Regions from separate parts of the Homo sapiens genome. Here region 1 is linked to region 2. Evidence: promoter capture Hi-C in 16 types of primary human blood cells and fetal thymus (Javierre and others, 2016). All regions are on one chromosome and are shown on one strand. The core of a region is centred on a gene start or on the middle of the fragment in contact, and the rest is flanking DNA. Distances in the headings are between cores, read along the strand shown. Region 1 overlaps HSPE1-MOB4 (HSPE1-MOB4 readthrough). Region 2 holds the start of GLS (glutaminase).

What was found. The method cuts DNA at HindIII sites, captures the fragments that hold promoters and counts their contacts. A CHiCAGO score of 5 or more calls a contact.
Region 1: a contact is called between a fragment that was not itself captured here and the fragment with the promoter of GLS in region 2, in 1 of 17 cell types (total B cells). The highest score is 6.3, in total B cells.

The regions. Positions count from the first base shown.
Region 1 is chr2:197,507,303-197,511,412 of GRCh38, reverse strand. The region is part of intron 2 of HSPE1-MOB4 (HSPE1-MOB4 readthrough); the gene reads right to left. Among named protein-coding and RNA genes, the nearest start is that of MOB4, 6.7 kb to the left of the region's middle. The HindIII fragment of the contact is 5,819 bases long and covers 1-4,110 here.
Region 2 is chr2:190,878,313-190,882,268 of GRCh38, reverse strand. GLS (glutaminase) reads right to left here and starts at 1,448. Exons shown (of 18, transcript NM_014905.5): 1 at 799-1,448. The coding sequence starts at 1,184. It overlaps LOC124906110 (a long non-coding RNA gene), which reads left to right and starts at 281. Exons shown (of 2, transcript XR_007087791.1): 1 at 281-356; 2 at 701-3,956. RefSeq lists enhancers at 1-160, 1-524, 1,921-2,060 and silencers at 481-790, 851-940, 991-1,050, 1,391-1,650. The HindIII fragment of the contact is 8,795 bases long and covers 1-1,958 here.

The DNA.
Region 1 (4,110 bases), core at 197-2,696, 6.6 Mb before region 2:
CCACTGTGCCCAGTCTGTCTTTATTTTCTTGATAACACCAATCTGTATCTAAAATCATGCTATTAATTTAGTTGTTTACTGTGTGCTTCCCCGATCTTATTCATCCCTGTATATCCAGTGCCTAGAACAGTGCCTAGCCCATATTCAAAAAATGCGTGACTTAAAAATACTATAATAAACTAGCCTTTTGAACTGACATTCAAGCCAGGTAAGTAAATAACCATTGATGTTTTTCCAAGTCATGTCTTCAGGCTAAATGAGACTGAAAGGGCATTTCGCAAGCGAAATTTTAAGTGTCTTAAAGACTTAGGCTTAATCTATAAGATGGTAGGGGAATTTTAAACATTTCTTATATCTTTTAACAGGAAAATCTACAGATGGAGCCAAAATCAAAATCTGTTGTTTTTTTTTTAAAGAAAAACCCAAACTATAAAAATACCTAAAGAAACCGTGGAAGAAACTTTAAGTTTTGGAGAAGACTTTTCAGAGTTTAACGTCATACCCAGAAGGCATAAAGAAAAACATTTAATAATTCAAATACACCAAAATGACTTTCTACAAGTGCAAGGCATAAACAAAATCAAAACCCAAATGACAAACTAGAGGGAAAAAAAACACAAAGAACTAGTTTCTTTAATAAATAGAAGTCATAAAAGATCAAGCACTCAGTCAAAAAATAGGCAGAAGATATTAAGTGAATAGGAATAACCAGTTAACAAGGGTAAGCAAGGTGGCTCATGCCTGTAATCTCAGCACTTTGAGAGGCTGAGGTGGGCAGATCACTTGAGTCCAGGAGTTCAAGACCACGCTGAGCAACATGGCAAAACCCTGTCTCTACAAATATTAGCTGGGCGTGGTAGCATGCATCTGTAGTCCCGGCTGCTCGGTAGGCTGAGGTGAGAGGATCACCTGAGCCCAGGATGTCAAGGCTGCAGTGAGCCTCTGATGGTGCCACTGCACTCTAGCCTGGGCGACAGACAAGAACCTGTCTCAAAAAAAAAAAGAGTCTTAAACACATACAATGCTCATCCTCATTCATCATGATAAAGAGTAAAATTATCAGATTGGCAAAATAAGAACTTTATAACATCCTGCATTACAGAGAGTAAGAAGAAAAAAAATACATTGCTAGTAGGACTGTTAATTCATGGACCTTTTGGCTGGGCGCAGTGACTCATGCCTGTAGTCCCAGCACTTTGGAGGCGGGTGGATCACCTGAGATCAGGAGTTTGAGACCAGCCTGGTCAACATGGTGAAACCTCATCTTTACTAAAAATACAAAAATTAGCCAGGCGTGGTGGCGAGCACCTGTAATCCCAGCTACTCAGGAGGCTGAGATAGGAGAATCACTTGAACTTGGGAGGTGGAGGTTGCAGTGAGCCAAGATCGTGCCACTGCACTCCAGCCTGGGCAATAAGACTGAAACTCTGTGTCAATAAATAAATAAATAAATAAATAAATAAATAAAACTGATGGGAGTTCAATGAAGGACAACTTGGAGATCCATGTCTGTATCTGCGTACATGCATGATTAAAATTCACAGACCCTTTGACGTAGCAGTTCTATAGGAATTTATCTTATAGATATGCTTGTTCAAATGTACATATTTAGTTATGCATACATTTATTCATTGCAGAAGTGTTTCTAATAGAAAAAGGTTAGAATAACTTAAATATCTATCATTGCTGGGGGTGCATCCTGAAATAAATTATGGCTTATCCATATAATTGAACATTATACAGTCTTAAAGTGTCTTTATCTATAGATTAATCCCAGAGACCAATTGTTAATGTAAAAAAGCAAGGTGTCAAATGTTATGTATGGAATATTATTTTTTGAAAAAGAAAAAATGAATATATATTTTATATACATAAGATATGTACATATATAGTACACATTTACATATATGTGTATATACATAAAACACCTTAAAGGAAGAATACAAAAATTATACTAGTTACTTCCAAGGATGGGACTGGGTGGCTGGGGGACAAGGATAGAGAGCATTCTTTTCAGTGTCTATAATTTTAAATTTTTACATGAACATATTATTTATTTTTAAATAAATAAAAGTTTAACAACAAAATAACAGGCTTGACTCAAAACGTTAAGAGGCAAATCTAATGCCCTTGTTTTGCAGTTCATTCATAAGCTAAGAGGGGTTAGGTAATTTGTCAAATGTAGCAGAACTAGTATGTAAGCAACACAGGACAAGAGCTGGGATTGATTGGGCTCTCTCATAGAGGTTGCTTGAGAGTAAAGGAAAATATACTTAAGCTGGGTGTGGTGGCTCATGCCTATAGTCCCAGGACTTTGAGAGGCTGAGGTGGGTGGATCACTTGAGGTCAGGAGTTCAAGACCAGCCTGACCAACATGGTGAAACCCCATCTCTACTAAAAGTACAAAAAAAATTAGCCAAGTGTGGTGGCACATGCCTGTAATTCCAGCTACTCAGGAGGCTGAGGCAGGAGAATCGCTTGAACCCGGGAGGCGGAGGTTGCAGTGAGTCGAGATCGTGCCATTGCACTCCAGCCTGGGCAACAAGAGCGAAACTCCTTCTAAAAAAAAAAGAAAAGGAAGGGAAGGGAAGGGATTGGATTTAAATACTCGTCACACAAATAAGTCAAAAGTTCAAAACTCCATTTTTGTGTGGGTGCAGTGAAAACAGTAATTAACTTGCTGGAGGAAGCATGACTTGGTATAACACTGAAGAACAAGCTGGCGGCTCATATAGGAACAAAGAACATACTCTCAGGCAGGTGAATAGGTACAGGGAGGACTTGCCTTATCAGATGTCAAACTTAAATATAAAGCTATTTACATTGAAAGCAATGTGATGGAATAGGGAGGTCAATGGAACAAATTATTAAACCCATGAATAGGCATATTTAGAAATTTCGTATATGATAAAGGCAACATCTCTGATTTCTGGGCATAGAGAGAAGGGAGGTCGGGGAGTGGTGTGCAGGGAGAAGAATGGATAATCCAGTAAGTAAAGTTGTGACAACAAGCTACTCATTGATTAAAAAAATAAAGTAGTCCTAGCTTCTCTGGAGGGTGAGGCAGGAATATTGCTTGAGCTCAGGAGAGCAAAAACTGCCTGGAGAGCACAGTGAGACCCCATCTCTGAAAAAAGAAAGTCAGATACATACACCATTCACTAAAAAACAAATTGTGTACCTGTAATTCCAGCACCTTGGGAGGCCAAGCAGGGAGGATCACTTGACTCCAGGAGTTTGAGACCAGTCTCGGCAATATAGTGAAACCCAGTCTCTACAAAAAATACAAAAATTGGCTGGCTGCAGTCACTCACGCCAGTAATCTTAGCTCTTTGGGAGGCCGAGGCAGGAGGATCACCTGAGGTCAGGAGTTCAAGACCAGCCTTGCCAACATGGTGAAACCCCATCCCTACTAAAAATACAAAAATCAGCTGGGCGCAGTGGCGGGTGCCTATAATCCCAGCTATTCAAGAGGCTGAGGCAGTAGAATCACTTGAACCCGGGAGGCAGATGTTGCAGTGAGCCGAGATCGCACCACTGCACTCCAGCCTGGGCGACAGAGTGAGACTCCGTCTCAAAAAAAAAAACAAAAAACAAAAAACAAAAATTAGCAGGGCATGGTGACATGTATGTGTAGTCCCAGTTACTCAGGGGGCTGAGGTGGGAGGATCAATTGAACCTGGGAGGTCAAGGCTGCAGTGAGCCATGATAGCACCACTGCACTCCAGCCTGAGCACTAGAGGAAGACCCTGTCAAAAAATAAAAAATTACCCACGCGTGGTGACACAGGCCTGTACTTCCAGCTACTCTGGAGGCTGAAGTGGGAGGATTGCTTGAGCCCAGGAGTTCGAGGCTGCAGTGAGCTATAATCACACCACTGCTCTTCAGCCAGATAGACAGAATAGGGCTCTGTCTCAAAAAAAAGAAAAATATCCCAGCACTCCGGGAGGCCGAGGCGGCGGATCACGAGGTCAGGAGATCAAGACCATCCTGGCTAACATGGTGAAACCCGTCTCTACTAAAAATACAAAAAAATTAGCCGGGCGTGGTGGCAGGCGCCTGTAGTCCCAGCTACTCAGGAGGCTGAGGCAGGAGAATGGCATTAACCCG
Region 2 (3,956 bases), core at 199-2,698:
CTCAGATTTTTCACTGAGTTAGTGTATTACGTCACATTTCATCTTGGCTATTTAACTTTTATTTCTAAAAATCTCCCCATCTCACGGAAGACCTGACAAGCCAAAGCTGGTCCCTTATGCAAACAGGTGGTCTATACTGCGTGCCCCATCTTCTCGGCCACATGACCGGATTCCTCCTAATCTCACTTCTGAAACATTGTTTCCGGTGCCCCAGATGGCTCTACACGTGCCTGAGGTAGCCACTCCCGAAATATAAAGAGCTCTCTGTCACATCTGGCTTCCAACCGGATGATGGCAGAAACCAAGGGAGGGCAGGCAGAGCGGAAACGAGCCAGGAAAAGCGACAAGTCAGGAAGGTAAAGGCTCTGCTGAACGCCCAACTCCTAAATGTCACTCGGTGGAGATGTTCGTGCAGCATCGCCCACGAATGGCTGGGGCGGGCGGCCAGGCGCTGCAGCCGCAAGCCAGGGAGCTGAGCACGCAGCGCGGGCAGGGGAGCGGCCTCTCTGGCGCTGGGGACGCCAGGCGAGCCCATCAGGCCCCACCGCGGCCCCACCAGGGCGACCCCCGCCGGGGGCGGAGAAGGGAAGTGGGTGCCTGGCGGAGGGTTGCGGGCGGGGAAGGCGCGGGCGGGGCCGGGCCTAATCACATGGCGCAGACGGCGCAGGCCGCCCGGCACCTCTTTCTTTCTCTTTTCTAGACCCTCGGCTCCTATCCCGCCCCACCGCAGGGCCCCACACAGCCTGAGCCCGGGCCCCGAAAGGAACGAGGCCTCCTGCGCCTCGCGGAGACACTCACTTTTCACCTGAGGCCACCAGCTCTTTGCCCTCGCTGTTGCCAAACGCGTCCGTCTCCCCGGGGCCGTCCTTGGGGCCGGGCGCCGCCGGGGCAGCGGGTGGCGACACCCCGGGCTGCGGATGCGTGCTCCCCTTGCCCAGCTCCTGCAAGATCTCCGAAGGAGAGCTGGACAGGCCCCGCGCGAGGGGCTCCGCCGGCCAGCCGCCCCCGCCCCACCACGGGTGGAGTCGCGCGGCGGCAGCCGGGCCCGCGGCCGGCCGTCCCCCGCCTCGGGGACGCCGGCACAGGGTGACCAAGGGCTGTGCCCGCCGCAGAGTCGCGCTCACGCCGGCGGGCGACCGCAGGAGCAGGTCCCGCAGCATCCCCGAGCCTCGCAGCCGCATCATGCCGCCGGGTCCGTCAGCGCCCGCTCAACAGGGGAGGATGCTCCGGGCGTGGGCGGCCGGTTTCCTCGGGGAACGCGGTCTGTGGTGGGGCGGTGAGATGACAGAAGAGGAAAGGGCAGCTACTTGGGTGTGGTTCCGGCTCGGACTCCCGCAGCGGATGCGGGTGCTGCTGCTGCTGCTGCTGCTGCTGCTGCTGCTGCTGCTGCTGCTGCGCGCTAGGATTGCCGCGACCGGTTCTCTTCGCTCCGCCTAAGGCTCCGCACTGAGGCTAAAGCGCAGGGGAGGGCTAGAGACCTTCAGCGCTCGCCGACGGCCCGCCCCTTTCGCCCGCTGCGATTGGCTCAAATCCTCGACCTCTCTTTTGATTGGCGATTAGGGCAGTCAAATTTCTCTCGGCTCTGGGTGCGCGGAGAGTAGGGCGGGGGATTGGTGGGGGGCGGGGAGAGGAGTCAAACTGACGTGTGAAGCGGGTGAGCCAGGCCCGGCTGCTCAGTAGCCACTTTCTGCACGCCGTGCCAACTCCGAGGCTAGCCTAGTTGGGTACTAGGGGCTCTGGGTTCTCGCATTTATGAAGCAGTGGGCTCCTCCACTCTGGGAATTCGAGCTGTTGGGGAGACTCATGGGCGAGATCCCCCGCAGCCGAGGGCAGTGAGGTCAGCAGGTTTGGCAGGGCTGAGTCTGGCCGAGCTGTCGGAACTCAGCCGATCCCAGCTCGCATCTGGCCCCCAGGTCAGGGCGTCTGGCGACTCCTCCGAGAGCAGCCCCGGACAAGCTTCATCCCTCTCCCAAATGTAACATTTGCTTGAAACTTTCCATGATTGGCTACTACCCAGACGTGAAGTGTTTTGGAAAAAATGAGCAAAATCCTTTCAGCTATGCGACTTAAGCCATGGGAGGGTGGAGGTGGAGGGAGGGCGACGAGTGGCGAGGCGGGGTGGGGGGGTTGCGGAATCCAGAATACGACAGCTTTCTTTTTTAAAAATTATTTTTTTTAAATGTACACCGATACTTCAAAAATAGTTTTGAATAGCAATGATTCCGTTAACGCTATTTGCTTGAAAGCAAAACTGTAGATACTTTTCTATTTTAAAAACTGCTTCACTGTTTTAAAATAGAAGCGTTGGAATACGGGTTCTCTAAGTTATTTCAGCATCACTTTATCCATTTATCCTTTTGGACCTGTGGAAAAACAGCCAAGAACCTGATAAACTGAGTTATTCCCTGAGGCTACATACACATTACATTCCAGGACAAAAAAATGTTTTTAGACTATTTCCTGAAACAATTAGGTTTAAATGGAGTAGATCCACAGAGTTTAATAAGATGTTTTGGGGGTTGGTGTGTTGTTACTGTGTTGTTGTGTGTGTTCGTTTTGAGAAAGGGTCTCACTCTGTCGCCCAGGCTGAAGTGCAGTGGCGCGATCACGGCTTACTGCAGCCTTGAACTCAGGGGCCCCGGTGATCCTCCCACCTCAGCCAGCACCTGCTTTTTTTTTTTTTTTTTTTTGTATTTTTGGTAGAGACGGGGTTTCGCCAGGTTGCCCAGGCTGGTTTCGAGGGATCTGCACCCCCTGGGCCTCCCAAATTGCTGGGATTACAGGCGTGAGCCACCACGCCCGGCCTAATGAGGTGATTTTTATGAAACTAGAAGGGTGTATGTCAGGTGCATCATTAATTGATAACCGGATTTAGTAATCTAGTGAACTGTAAAATATTTCAATAGATTAATAATTAGGAAATCTGGCTGTACCTACAGGTTATGTGACCTTTGGCATGTTACAGCCTTGCCGTGTTTTAAGTTTTTTTTTTCTATCTGCTCTTTAACCAGAAGAACATGGAAAAAACTATCATGTGTAAAACATAGTCACCTTTTTTATTTAAAAAAAAAAAAGCAGGACAATGGGAAAGTACTTAGATAGCTTTTATTACTAATGTTACTTGTCCAAAAATGTTGATGAATCAAAGTAATGATATATTCAGGAATAGAGACATCAAGTTTCAGAGGAAAGGTAACAAATATTACCCCTGCCTAACCCTGACTTGTTAATGACTTGCAGACTTTAATATTGTCCAATATATTAGCTGCAATTAGTTATCAATTTTAACTGCCTCTTTTTTCTCAACAACACAAAGCAACTGACAATCCAGTTACTGTTTTCCTCTCAGTTTCTCCCTTAATTTCTCTGAGTTTCTTATGAAAATTGTTTTAGATATTTAAAGGTTTAAAGGCTTTATAGTTCACTTAACAAATAAGAAAGCTAACCTAGTAACAGATTATTTTCTAGAGTTTCTAGTTTCTAGAGTTTTATTTTCTGGTAGTTTCCAGACTTTCTGCTTTTGGTGAGAATGGATAGATATTACTCCCAAAATTTGGAAGAATTGAGTCCACTGAAATTTAACCCCTTGTTTGAGAAGGCTAATGAAAAGGTTATAGACAGCAAAGAAACTATTATAAATAGAATAAAAATGTGACTCAATACTTTCATTTGATTCTTTTCTTCATCTTATATAATTTTTTAATCTTTAAAGATATTTTTATCTACAACTTTGTAACCATTACACAACTTTGAAGTTTCAGTTATGTTAAATTGAATTATATCATTACATAAACTCATGTAATCATCATGTAAAAAGTATAAAAACATTTGTATACATACAATAAGTAGTCCACCAAAATATCTACAAATAGAAAAATGCTCTCCACATTAACTATGGTTGGGTTGTCAGATCTACTCTTCGACTTCCTTTTTGCTCCTAAGTGCAGCTACACTAC